3 separate regions of the Homo sapiens genome follow, and all the other regions are linked to region 1. The links are contacts of gene promoters, found by promoter capture Hi-C in human tissues and cell types (Jung and others, 2019). All regions are on one chromosome and are shown on one strand. The core of a region is centred on a gene start or on the middle of the fragment in contact, and the rest is flanking DNA. Distances in the headings are between cores, read along the strand shown. Region 1 holds the start of HOXC4 (homeobox C4). Region 2 holds the start of COPZ1 (coat protein complex I subunit zeta 1). Region 3 holds the start of ZNF385A (zinc finger protein 385A).

The links. Contacts are between HindIII fragments. The study calls those that stand out against the background at their distance.
Region 2: a fragment that was not itself captured here is called in contact with the fragment with the promoter of HOXC4 in region 1 in 2 of the 25 tissues and cell types used here (aorta and psoas muscle).
Region 3: a contact is called between a fragment that was not itself captured here and the fragment with the promoter of HOXC4 in region 1, in 1 of the 25 tissues and cell types used here (small bowel).

What each region holds. Positions count from the first base shown.
Region 1 is chr12:54,052,167-54,056,715 of GRCh38, forward strand. It overlaps HOXC4 (homeobox C4), which reads left to right and starts at 1,669. Exons shown (of 2, transcript NM_153633.3): 1 at 1,669-2,195; 2 at 2,684-3,864. The coding sequence starts at 1,757. The coding sequence ends at 3,039. RefSeq lists enhancers at 1-446, 447-1,428, 724-883 and a cis regulatory region at 1,460-1,960. The HindIII fragment of the contact is 12,403 bases long and covers 1-4,549 here.
Region 2 is chr12:54,324,873-54,329,503 of GRCh38, forward strand. It overlaps COPZ1 (coat protein complex I subunit zeta 1), which reads left to right and starts at 259. Exons shown (of 9, transcript NM_016057.3): 1 at 259-309. The coding sequence starts at 292. RefSeq lists an enhancer at 4,319-4,631. The HindIII fragment of the contact is 4,502 bases long and covers 272-4,631 here.
Region 3 is chr12:54,381,776-54,386,300 of GRCh38, forward strand. It overlaps ZNF385A (zinc finger protein 385A), which reads right to left and starts at 2,958. Exons shown (of 7, transcript NM_015481.3): 1 at 2,653-2,958. The coding sequence starts at 2,739. The region is part of intron 1 of GPR84-AS1 (GPR84, ZNF385A, ITGA5 and GTSF1 antisense RNA 1); the gene reads left to right. The HindIII fragment of the contact is 3,541 bases long and covers 519-4,059 here.

The DNA.
Region 1 (4,549 bases), core at 419-2,918:
ATCACATTACGACTTTTCGTGGAAAGGAGGGAGCAGGCAGCCAGCGGCCGCCAGCCCTGCGCCGCCGCCGACACAAAGAGTGCGGGCGATTCCGCGAGACTGATTTATGACGTTTTACAGCCCTATAAAAGCTGTAGCGACGAGGCAAGCGCTCCTACCACCGCTGGCAGATTTAGTCTAATAAATAAAACATAAACAGTTAACTTTATGTGTCACTTTTATTGTTATCAAGTAAAATATAGCTGAGCCCTGGCAAGCTATGATTTTAAACTATAATTGTTATCAAGTACAACAAGGGGACCCGGCTCCCTCCCTGGGCTCTCCCCTCCGCTACCCCCCGCAACTCTGAGTTATGGGCGATCAGTTAATTGGAATCGGTGGCATGACAGGACCACCCCTAGCTGGGGGGGGGGGGTGGTGGTTAGGAAAGCAGCTTTTCCTGGCCCCCTCCCTCCTCTACGGCCCTGTCACCCCCCTCCATCAGAGTATTACTGTGAGTGGGTGGCAGAGAGAGAGCAGGGGGTGTGAATGGGCTGGAGACCCCAAAGGCTGGCCGTGCCTCCCCAACTTGGTGAGCTTAGCCTTCCGTTTTTGGAAAGCAGCCTGGAGCTGGCCTTTAGGAATTCGTGTTTACATGTAAACACACGTGTTACATGGATACAGCTCCTAGCCAGAAGCAAGCAGGCTCTACCCACACAGGCCTCCCTCTTAGCTAGGTCTGCCCTCTGTGGGGACAGAGAAAGAACTCTCAGGATCTTGGCTGGGCACCATCACAGGGCACTGACTCCTGGCAGAAAGCTCTCCTCCTTGCCCCAGCTCCTTGGAGATAATTGTCAGAAAATAGCAGGCCGGGCTGAATGGGGAGTGGAAACAGAAGCCAGCAGTAGAAGAGATCCTCTGCTCTGGGGCTGGGGCAGGGAGGGTCAGTGGGTAGCAGGGGAAGGCGAGACTTCTGAACTCTGCTTTTGCCAACCACTTCCTGTCTCTCTTCAGCGGGGGCTCAACCCCCAGACCTCCAGAAATGACGTCAGAATCATTTGCATCCCGCTGCCTCTACCTGCCTGGTCCAGCTGGGACCCTGCCTCGCCGGCCGCATGGCCAGAGGGTTGGGTGAGTGTGTATGGGGAAGAGGGGCTGGACTCTGGTATCCTTGGATGGGGGGCACTCCAGGCTCTCCAGCCTCCTCGGCTCAGCCTGGGCCCCTCCCCATCCAACATCCACTCCAGTCCTCATTCAACTTCCTCTTCCTGCGAAAGAGGGGCGCTGCCCCGTGACCTACACAGACTGAGACACGATCGCCATGAATGGAGACCTCTGGAAAAGCTCAGGAGCCGAGGCCCACGGGGCCCAGCAGAGGCCTGAGGGGAGACCCTGGGCGGGGGCTGAATCACTGCCTCCCGACAGTCCCCCAATGCCCGGGCTTTGGAGGGGAGCCGGGAGCTTCCCATCTCCTTTTGCAGGGGAGGGTTGTCAGTCTGGCGGGATGTGCACTGGGGGCACTCCAACCTCTGCTAGCTAACCCCACATCACCACCCACCCCCGCCTCCCAGCACCACCACCACCACACACACAAAAAAATTGGATACATTTTGAATAAAGCGATTCGGTTCCTTATCCGGGGACTGGGTTGCTCCGTGTGATTGGCCGGAGGAGTCACATGGTGAAAGTAACTTTACAGGGTCGCTAGCTAGTAGGAGGGCTTTATGGAGCAGAAAAACGACAAAGCGAGAAAAATTATTTTCCACTCCAGAAATTAATGATCATGAGCTCGTATTTGATGGACTCTAACTACATCGATCCGAAATTTCCTCCATGCGAAGAATATTCGCAAAATAGCTACATCCCTGAACACAGTCCGGAATATTACGGCCGGACCAGGGAATCGGGATTCCAGCATCACCACCAGGAGCTGTACCCACCACCGCCTCCGCGCCCTAGCTACCCTGAGCGCCAGTATAGCTGCACCAGTCTCCAGGGGCCCGGCAATTCGCGAGGCCACGGGCCGGCCCAGGCGGGCCACCACCACCCCGAGAAATCACAGTCGCTCTGCGAGCCGGCGCCTCTCTCAGGCGCCTCCGCCTCCCCGTCCCCAGCCCCGCCAGCCTGCAGCCAGCCAGCCCCCGACCATCCCTCCAGCGCCGCCAGCAAGCAACCCATAGTCTACCCATGGATGAAAAAAATTCACGTTAGCACGGGTAGGCAACTTTGCTTTTTGCTCCCCCCCTCCCTCCCTTCTTCCCTAGCGCTCCCCACCCTCCTCGGCCCCCTCTGGCCCCCGTCCTCCTTTCTCTCCTTCCCCCTCTCTCTCCAGGAGCGACTCTGGGTTAGCACAATTGAACTGGATTTACGAGCGAGAATGGGTAATTACATCCCCCATAAATTTTATGGCTTAGCTACTCTGGGCAGTCCGAGCCATGTGCTACGATCTGTTATGTATGTGTGAAAACTATGCTCGCTTTCTAAGGGCGCATAAATAATTCAGTGTCGTTACAATGAGGATTCCCCTCTTATTACACTACAAAGTCTTCAGCTTCCTTCAACTTCTTTATAACCCATTTAAGCTTGATGACTTTATTTCCACCACTCCCTCCTCCTGTTTCTCAGAGCTGAGGATGGGGTGAGGGTGGGGGGCGGGGAGCCTGCTGCCTCTGAACCCCACTATTTGCTTTTCCCCTCCCCCCAGTGAACCCCAATTATAACGGAGGGGAACCCAAGCGCTCGAGGACAGCCTATACCCGGCAGCAAGTCCTGGAATTAGAGAAAGAGTTTCATTACAACCGCTACCTGACCCGAAGGAGAAGGATCGAGATCGCCCACTCGCTGTGCCTCTCTGAGAGGCAGATCAAAATCTGGTTCCAAAACCGTCGCATGAAATGGAAGAAGGACCACCGACTCCCCAACACCAAAGTCAGGTCAGCACCCCCGGCCGGCGCTGCGCCCAGCACCCTTTCGGCAGCTACCCCGGGTACTTCTGAAGACCACTCCCAGAGCGCCACGCCGCCGGAGCAGCAACGGGCAGAGGACATTACCAGGTTATAAAACATAACTCACACCCCTGCCCCCACCCCATGCCCCCACCCTCCCCTCACACACAAATTGACTCTTATTTATAGAATTTAATATATATATATATATATATATATATAGGTTCTTTTCTCTCTTCCTCTCACCTTGTCCCTTGTCAGTTCCAAACAGACAAAACAGATAAACAAACAAGCCCCCTGCCCTCCTCTCCCTCCCACTGTTAAGGACCCTTTTAAGCATGTGATGTTGTCTTAGCATGGTACCTGCTGGGTGTTTTTTTTTAAAAGGCCATTTTGGGGGGTTATTTATTTTTTAAGAAAAAAAGCTGCAAAAATTATATATTGCAAGGTGTGATGGTCTGGCTTGGGTGAATTTCAGGGGAAATGAGGAAAAGAAAAAAGGAAAGAAATTTTAAAGCCAATTCTCATCCTTCTCCTCCTCCTCCTTCCCCCCCTCTTTCCTTAGGCCTTTTGCATTGAAAATGCACCAGGGGAGGTTAGTGAGGGGGAAGTCATTTTAAGGAGAACAAAGCTATGAAGTTCTTTTGTATTATTGTTGGGGGGGGGTGTGGGAGGAGAGGGGGCGAAGACAGCAGACAAAGCTAAATGCATCTGGAGAGCCTCTCAGAGCTGTTCAGTTTGAGGAGCCAAAAGAAAATCAAAATGAACTTTCAGTTCAGAGAGGCAGTCTATAGGTAGAATCTCTCCCCACCCCTATCGTGGTTATTGTGTTTTTGGACTGAATTTACTTGATTATTGTAAAACTTGCAATAAAGAATTTTAGTGTCGATGTGAAATGCCCCGTGATCAATAATAAACCAGTGGATGTGAATTAGTTTTACGTCAATGTCTGATGGTTTCTTTTTATTCCCCTCCCTCTCTGGCCTGGTAACATCCCATCTTCTCTATAGTTGCCTAAGTTTACTTTAAACAAACACACAAATCTTAGCTCTCCATTAGTCTTCCAATGTCCTTAGAAGAACAAGCAAGGGGGTTGGGGTATGGGATCTTCAGAAGAGGGGATGTGGAAGATTAAGGCTGATTTCTCCAGTCCCCTTCCTTCCCCCTGAGTCTGCAGAGAGACCAGACTCCTCTGGGGGCACTTCAGTGGAGCTGAGGGTGGGGAGTGTCTCACTTTTCTATAGTTAGGTACAGTTTCTTCTTTTTGTCTTTTCTCTCTCTTCCCTTCTCCCTCCTCTGTGCTGAGTAGGCCTGCCTACTTTGTAGACAAGGGGGCAAGTTTAGGGAGTGGGAAGGAGAATAGTTTTCTTTCATCTTTTAGGGCTCTTTTGGGATGAGGGATTAAGGAAGACATCCCCTCAACATTTGAGTTCTTAAAAGAAGGAAGGTTTTGAGCTGGTGACTCTGAAGCAGCAAAGTCACCTGTCAGGATGCCTTCTCTGTTTGTTTAGGCTTGGAAAAAAGACTGGCCAGAGGCCTGGGAGGTACCCTTGTTATGGATAGGCCTCAAAGGCTGATGCCTGGAGATAATAAAAGACTTTTACCTTTTTATTCTCTAACTTTTA
Region 2 (4,631 bases), core at 1,273-3,772, 270 kb after region 1:
TTAACAATCGCTTCTTCTGTTCCCCATGGAAACAACCCCGCCCCACTAACCCTCCCGCCCCAATGAGTCGTGAGGTTTTGGCGTTTTATTGAGTATTCAAGCTGACAATCAAACACCTGAGCCTTCTGGTTGGACACTTTGCTTCCGGTAAGCAAGCTAGTACAATAATTGGCCAATAAAGCAAGCCTTACCCAATGATCCTTATCCTAGGCGGGGCCTAATGGGAACGTATGGCCAATCAGCGGCGGCGTTTCTTTTGCGGCTCCACGTCGGCACCAGCTGCGGGGCAAGATGGAGGCGCTGATTTTGGTAGGAGCTGGAGGGGCAGCAGAGATGCTGTGGTGTCCACAGGGGCCGGGAGTCAGGGTTCAGCCCGAGTGGGAGACGGGGAAAGAGAGTTCCGGGTAATTCTTGGGGACTGAGCGTTCTGCTGACCTTTGGAATAAGTGTGTGGCCTAGTGTAGGAGCTAAAGCCTTGGTTTAGAGTAGGAAGCCCTGCCGGGGAGAGGGCATAGAGTCGGTGGAAAGTTGAAGGCAGCACATGGACTCCTTAGGATACACAGACCTGTAGGCGTACTGGATTAGGACCCTTCAGGTTGCCCCTTATTTTTAGCATTGTGGATGATACCCTGATTTTAATTTACCAAACCACCAAACTCGCCCCATATTGTAAGAAAAGAATACAGATGTTTTGTCGTTACAGACTCCTCCTGATGGTTTCCCAAGTTTGACTCTCCATTGCCGATTCCCTGCCACATTCCTTCAGGAAACTGTTTTGTCTTCGGTTTCCTGTTAATCCCTATTATATAGGTTTGTCAAATAATCAGTATTCCATCAAAGTTCTGGGATACCTGATAAAGTTAGCATGGATTGTGGAATATTTTTTCTAGACTCCTTATTCTGTTCTCCTTTTCTCTACCCATTTAGACCTTAGGAATTCTTTTTTTTTTTTTTTTTTTTTGAGACCGAGCCTTGCTCTGTCACCCAGGCTGGAGTGCGCACGTGGCGCGATCTTGGCTCACTGCAATCTCCACCTCCCGGGTTCAAGCTATTCTCTTGCCTCAGCCTCCCGCGTAGTTGGGACTATAGGCGCGTGCCACCACGCCCGGCTATTTTTTTTGTATTTTTAGTAGAGACGTGGTTTCACCATGTTGGCCAGGCTGGTTTCGAACTCCTGACCTCAAGTGATCCGCCCGCCTCGGCCTCCCAAAGTGCTAGGATTACAGGCTTGAACCACCGCGCCTGGCCAGGAATTATTATTATTATTATTATTATTATTATTTTTGAGACGGAGTCTCACTCTGTCGCCCAGGCTGGAGTGCAGTGGTACGATCTCGGCTCACTGCAAGCTCCGCCTCCCGGGTTCACGCCATTCTTCTGCCTCAGCCTCCGGAGTGGCTGGGACTACAGGCGCTCGCCACCACTCCCGGCTAATTTTTTGTATTTTTTAGTAGAGACGGAGTTTCACCGTGTTAGCCAGGATGGTCTCGATCTCCTGACCTCGTAATCCACCCGCCTCGGCCTCCCAAAGTGCTGGGATTACAGGCGTGAGCCACTGCGCCGGGCCAGGAATTCTTATTGTATGATCTAGGATGCTAATTTCTCCCTCTCTGGTTACATGAGAATTGTGGTCGCTAAAGGGCTGTATTAGCCCTCTTGTCCATATGATGCTTTATGCTTGTTCTAACAAATAAAATACCTGTTACCCCTTTTTAGAACTGGACCAGAGAATTTCTCTCAAAAGTGCCCTATTTTGCGATTTGGAGGGGTGTGTGTGTGTGTGTGTGTGTGTGTGTGTGTGTGTGTGTAGGTAGGTAGGTAGTATAGTGTAGGAATTTAACTCCCAGCCTTCTTCCTTAATTGGCTTGAACTCTAGGCCTCTTTCCAAAGAAGCTTGTCTTTTATTTTCCTTCAGATCTCCTAAGCATACACATTCAGATCCTCATCAGATAAAAGAATAACAGGTTTTAATTCCTCTCTTTCAGTTAAAGACAGTTAATTCCTTATGTCGGTTGGTCAAATATAGGTAAAAAGCTTAAAATCTGAGTAGTTTTAAATATTTTCTGTACCAAGCAGTTAACAAGTATTCTTTTTTTTTTTTTTTTTTTTTTTTTTTTTTTTTTTTTGAGATAGAGTCTGGCTGTGTTGCCCAGGCTGGGGTGCAGTGGTGCAATCTTGGCTCACTGCAACCTCCGCCTCCCAGAATCAAGCAATTCTCATGCCTCAGCTTCCTGAGTAGCTGGGGTTACAGGCACGCGCCACCATGCCCAGCTAATTTTTGTATTTTTAGTAGAAACAGGGTTTCTCCATGTTTGCCAGGCTGGTCTAGTCTTGAACTCCTGACCTCAAGTGATCTGCCTGCCTTGGCCTCCCAAAGTGCTGGGATTACAGGTGTGAGTCACTGCACCCCGGCCAGTTAGCAAGTTTTTTTTTTTTTTTTTGGAAACAGAGTCTCGCTGTGTCACCCAGGCTGGAGTGCAGTGGTGTGATCTCACCTCACTGCAACCTCTGCCTCCTGGGTTGAAGCAATTTCTCCTGCCTCAGCCTCACGAGTAGCTGGGACTACAGGCACGTGCTGCCACACCTGGCTAACTTTTTTGTATTTTAGTAGAGACGGTTTCACTGTGTTGCCCAGGCTGGTCTTGAACTCTTGAGCTCAGGCAATCCACCTGCCTCAGCCTCCCAAAGTGCTAGGATTATAGGAGTGAGCCACCGTGCCCGGCAGCAAGTATTCTTAATCAAGAGGTTGAGTGCAGTGGCTCATGCCTGTAATCCCAGCACTGTAAGAGGCTGAGGCAGGAGGATCGCTTGAGCCTGGGAGTTTGAGGCTGCAGTGAGCTATGATTGTGCCACTGCACTCCAGCATGGGTGACAAAGCCAGACCCTGTCTCTAAAAAAATAAGAATAAAAAACCTCCCCCTAAACCCAATTAGCAGACTAGGATAGATTCTAGGGAATTGGTTTTTTTGGAAGTTTTTAGACTTACCTATATATGTTTAGAAGGGAGCCTGCTTAAAGGTAAAGGAATGAGGAAGATAATAATTGGGGAGCCCTTTTAACAATGGGCCTGTGTGTAGTGGGTAAGCTGGGGGAGTTATATGTGAAAGTATCTCTGTCGGGCGCAGTGCAGTGGCTCATGCCTGTAATCCTAGCACTTTGGGAGGCTGAGGTGGGCGGATCACTTGAGGTCAGGAGTTCGAAACCAGCCTGGCCAACATGGTGAAACCATGTCTCTACTAAAAATACAAAAAAAAATAGCTGGGCGTGGTGGCACGAGCCTATAGTCCCAACTACTCAGGAGGCTGAGGCAGGAGAATCACTTGAGCCAGGGAGGCAGAGGTTGCAGTGAGCCGAGATCGCGCCACTGCACTCCAGCCCAGGCGACAGTGTTAGACTCCATCTCAAAAAAAAAAAAAAGGCCGGGCACGGTGGCTCACGCCTGTAAATCCAGCACTTTGGGAGGCCGAGGTGGGCGGATCACGAGGTCAGGAGTTGGAGACCAGCCTGACCAACATGGTGAAACCCGGTCTCTGCTAAAAATACAAAACTTAGCTGGGCGTGGCCACGCCTGTAATCCCAGCTACTCAGGAAGCTGAGGCAAGAGAATCACTTGAACCTGGGAGGCAGAGGTCGCGGTGAGCCGAGATGCGCCACTGCACTCCAGCCTGGGTGACAGAGCAAGGCTCTGTCTCAGAAAAGTTAAAGAAAAAGAAAGTCTCTCTGTCACATTTCTCTTCCCTTAGTTCTCTGTCTCTGCTTCTTCAGTGAAGTCTGTTTCAGCCTGCTTCTTCCTTATTCTTTTGCTTTAATCTATGCCTAATAGGCTGCATTCACAGATCCCTGCTAACTTGATCAGGTAACCCTGGACTTTGCTTTTAAAACCACACTGGTTCTTTGTTATGGGAAACCTATGTAATGCGGTTAGGGACAATCTGATCAAAGCATATTCTTCTGTCCTTAACTCTACAAGGTACATACATAGCTGCAGGATGTCGAGAAAAAGGGACAGGTAAGCTACAGGGGGTCAAGAAGAACTGTTGATCAAAGTTTGCATTGATTGTGGAATTTCTAAATAACAGTAAGTTCCCTTCTTTTAGGTACTTTACAGTGGGTCACATGGTCACATTTCTTTCTTGAATTAAGTAATCCAGCTCTAGCTTTCAAGCAGATTTGTCTAATCTCTCTCAGGTCTCCTTAGGCTCTAAGGAAAGAGACCCTTTCATCTCTTTTAGTTCCCAATGCTTAATAATAGTGATCTCAGCCTGCATCTTTGGACTTGGCTTCTTCTCTCTTGCTGTATCTGCTGGTTCTCGCTTTTTGAGTTGTGAATGAAGAGGATCTCTGCAGATCACCATTCTCCATTAATAACCTGTGGAATCTTAAAGATAAGGATTTCCCCTTCCTCCTTCCTGCTTTACTTTTTTTCTTTAAAGCTGAATTACTCGGGCCGGGCTCGGTGGCTCACACCTGTAATCCTGAGGTGAGTGGATCACCTGAGGTCAGGAGTTCAAGACCAGCCTGACCAACATGGTGAAACCCGTCTCTGCTAAAAATACAAAAATTAGCTGGGCGTGGTGGCATGCGCTTGTAATCCCCAGCTACACGGGAGACTGAGGCAGGAGAATCGCTTG
Region 3 (4,525 bases), core at 1,039-3,538, 330 kb after region 1:
GCTCCAGGTTAAATCCCTTTTTCCTCTGCTCTCTGTTTTTCTGCCTAACTCTGGTTGGTCCCTTAGGCCCCATCACATCCAGGAAGGTCTTTCTTGATACTTGGGCTTCCATGCAAGCAAAATGCCTCTGACACAGCTCTTCTCACACTGTATAGGGTAACTGTTAACTTGTTATCCTTCCTACCAAACTATGAGCTCCCCAAGTGTGGTAACTGAGTCCCGTGTCCCTGACACCAGGCACAGTACCCAGCACATAGTAGGTGCTCAAAAAAAATTTTTTTTTTGTTAAATTGAATTTTTTTTTTTTTTTGAGATGGAGTTTCACTCTGTTGCCCAGGCTGGAGTGCAGTGGCGCAATCTCGGCTCACTGCAACCTCTGCCTCCCAGGTTCATGCCATTCTTCTGCCTCAGCCTCCGGAGTAGCTGGGAGTACAGGCGCCCGCCACCACGCCCGGCTAGTTTTTTGTTGTTTTTTTTTTTAGTAGAGACGGGGTTTCACCATGTTAGCCAGGATGGTCTCAATCTCCTGACCTTGTGATCCGCCTGCCTCGGCCTCCCAAAGTGCTGGGATTACAAGCGTGAGCCACCACGCCTGGCCCAGTCTGAAAACTTAAAAGTGCAATGCAAATGTGTGTCTGGGTCCCTCATTTGGGGGGAGCAGCTGTGGTATAACGATAAGTCTGTTTAGAGTCAGATGCAATGGGTTCAAATCATACCTTAGGCACATACTGTGTCAACTTATATAAATTACTAAACCCTTCTGAGGCTTAGTTTTTGCTTTCTTATTTGTTAAATGGAATAATAATGTCTACCTTGTTGGGTTGTTGTGAAGGTGAAATGAGATTGCAGATAGAAACATCTGCTACAGTGCCTGGTGTGTAGTCAATGCTCAATACATGTTTATGGCTAAATATGGTTTGATGTGGGTTATTTAAGTTGAATAAGGCTGACTTTCCCCAAACTTTTAGCTCTAGCCCACCTTCCAGGCTTCAGATTCTAACTATCTGTAGAACATTTTGGGCTCAATGTCCTACTGGTATGCCAAATCACCATATCCTTTTTTTTTTAAAAAAAATATTTATTATTATTTTTTAAAACAAAACAAATAGGCCAGGCACGGTGGCTCAAGCCTGTAATCCCAGCACTTGGGAGGCTGAGGCAGGTGGATCACAAGGTCAGGGTTCCAGACCAGCCTGGCCAAGATGGTGAAACCCCATCTCTACTAAAAATACAAAAATTAGCTGGGCATGGTGGTACGTGCCTGTAATCCCAGCTACTGAGGAGGGTGAGGCAGGAGAATGGCTTGAACCCAGGAGGCGGAGGTTGCAATGAGTCAAGATCATCATGCCACTGCACTCCAGCCTGAGAGATTGAGCAAGACTACATCTCAAAAACAAAACAAAACAAAACAAAACAAATAAAGCTTTAGCTTTAGCACCACATGCTAAAGCATCATCCTCACTGGAGACCAGCTTCCTCTTCCAACCCTCTGCCTCTGTCAGTGGTGACTTCCATCCAATCACAAAGGCCTGAATGCTGGAGTCATCCTTGACTCATGCCTTCTCTTCTCCCCCACCCCCAAACACCAGTTGGTCACCATGGCCTGTCAATATTTCCTTGAAATTACCTCCCCCATTCTCCCTTTCTCTCCACTCATACTGCCACTGCCACCAGCCCCGTCTGGCTTTTGAGGCTTCCCTCGGGCCTGCATTGCTAGGACAGCCTCCTAACTGTCACCTTCCTCCTGCCTCTGTTCCCTTTCATCCAGTTGCCCCACTCACCTTCCTCAAACACTGCTCTTACCAAGTCACTCTCCTGCTCAAGAATAGACAGTGGCGGCTGGGTGTGGTGGCTCATGCCTGTAATCCCAGCACTTTGGGAGGCTGAGGCAGGCGGATCACCTGAGGTCAGGAGTTTGAGACCAGCCTGGCCAACATGGTGAAACCCCATCTCTACTAAAAATACAAAAATTAGCCCGGTGTGGTGGCACACGCCTGTAATCCCAGCTACTTGGGAGGCCGAGGCAGGAGAATCGGTGAACTGGGGAGGTGGAGGCTGCAGTGACCCAAGATCGTGCCACTGCACACCAGACTGGGCAACAGAGTGAGACTCCGTCTCATAAAAACAAACAAACAAACACACGAATAGACAGCACCTCCTTATTTCATATTGTATTAAATCTAGACCACCTTGCCAGTCCTCCAAGCCCTATCCCACTGATGCTACCCACCCAGCCGTGGACTGCAGAGAGGTGAAACTTACAAACAGGCATGCTTATTTTCCTGCTCATTCCCTCTTTCTGGATTCAGCACCTACACCCCTCCTACCTCCCTACTGTTACTACCACCAATTTAAGTCTCATTACTTCTCTAGATGGTAGGGCGATTCACTGTAGGACTAAATGAGATAATTCATATAAAACACTTAGCACAGTGTCTGGCCCGTAGCAAGACCTCAGCAAATATTAGCTATTATTATTGTTGTTAACACTGTACCAGATGGCCCACAATACTCAAAATTAACTAGAATTAAGGAAGATGGGGTCATAAGAGGAGATAAGGAATTAGAAACAGAAGAAGAGGGCAGAGGTGGGTCTGAGAGAGAAAGGTCGGGTCACAAGAGGATGGAGAAGGCAGGCAGGCTGCTACTTACGGTGCTGTAGTTGCTGAAGAGGCCAAGGGTAGGGGCTGGCTCGAGTGGGAAGGGCAGGATCTGCTTGAGGTCCAGTGGGGGCTGCATGATCGGGGGCTGCCGTAGCAGAGGCAGGGGCCCTGCCCGGCTCAGGCTGCCTGAAGGGCAGAGAAAACATTCTGTGGGGTAGGAAGATTAAAGCTTGGGAACCCCACCCAAGCCTGCCAGTCCCACTCCCTAGCCAGGGCCCCCACACTCAGAAGTGTCACCCTCAGTGCACATAGTGTACACACTTCCCCTGCTGGCTCCAGAGCAATGGAGCACAGTGCCCTGTGGGCCTGGGGGAGGGTGTAGACCAGTCCTTCCCTTCTGGGTGGTTTTCACTTCCCCCTTTTCCAGCCTCCCTCCCCCAAACTCCTTAGGCACATTACAGACCCAGTAAGAGCTCATACCTTTTCTGCAGGCTGCCTGCTGAACCAGCAGGACTCCCAGCCTCAAGCCCCTGGCCACCCTCTTCTTCTGGTTTTGCTTTCCCCCAGGGGATCCTAAAGCTTGGTATCGCCCCAGGAAGAAGAGAGTCAAGTGGGTGATTCATCCTACTGACCAGAGGGGGATATTGAGACTTAGATTTGGAGGGGGGCTGCTGAATCTCTCAGATGCCCTAGAATTAGATTTTGCTCTAACTATAATTCTTTATTAACTATTGACATCTGTGGGGGTAGGTAGTGGGTTGGGTGGCTTTTGCTCTGGGAGGTGAACTACCTAGGCCATTCTCAGAGCCCCTTCTCCCAACCTTCCTCAGTCTTCCCCCATGCCCTTTTGTCTCACCAGGAATGCTCAGCTACAGGTCCAGTTCTGCAGGAGGAACCTCGACCTGGCCTATGGGCGGGGAATGCCTGGGTCTGACCCCAAGGGGAAATGAAAGTCCAGGCCAGCCATTCAACTACCCTTCTCTGAAACCTTCTCCTCCTCCTCTCAGAGTCACGGGAGGAACTCCACCAGACTCCAAAGGGGCAGCCCAAAGGTCCTCAGAGCCCTTCTGGGCTTCCACTGGCCCAGCTCCCTTCTGCGACCCTGCTGTGCACCAGCTGGGGAGTTCTGGCCGCCCTTCACTGCTCCAGTAACCCCCTGACAGCAACAGGGGTTCCCAGGAACAAAGGCAAACCGAGGAGGCTGCGTGCTTGGCCCGTCCTCCCTTGACTTTACTAGAGCAGAAGGTCTCCAGGATCCCTTCCTGTTCCCTCCAGACACCACCCCCTTTCATACCTTTAGTTTCTGATGCCTGCTGCCCCCAGGCAGTGGCCTGGCCCTGGCCCCCCAGGGGCCTGGGCCTGACAGCGTCCCCTTCCCTTGGTTCTGCCCTCTGCCCCCTCCCTTGCCAGCCCCCTCCCCCTCAGCCCAGTCAGTAGAATCAGCCAATCAGAATCCTGGAAAAGTGGGGCAGAGGGGAGGGCAGGGGAGCAGGGATTAGGGGAATCTGAGGCGACAGGGAGGGGGTGGGGAGGGCTCAGGCACAGCTGGGGGCTGGGAGCTGGTCCAGAAAGGTCTGGAGGGGTCTGTCTCTTTCACCCCATGCCAGGATGGGTGGTCAGGGTGACTGAGACAGAGCAGGGGGTCAAGGCTACTGGGAGTTTGGGCTTCAGAATTCTCAGGGCTAAAGGAGAGGGTAAGATCCTTGGCTTTGACCCTTAAGTAGCTGGGGGTCTGTATGCTTTGTGTCTATTCCCTCCTCTGTCACCTTCAAGGTTGGGATGGGGTGGAGAGAGGACACACACACACACACACACACACACACACACACACAGAGAGACGGACAGATGAAAGTGAGTGAGAGGATGGGAGAGTGGTAGCAGCAGGAATAGGTGACTGAGGAATCGGACAGTGACACTGAGAG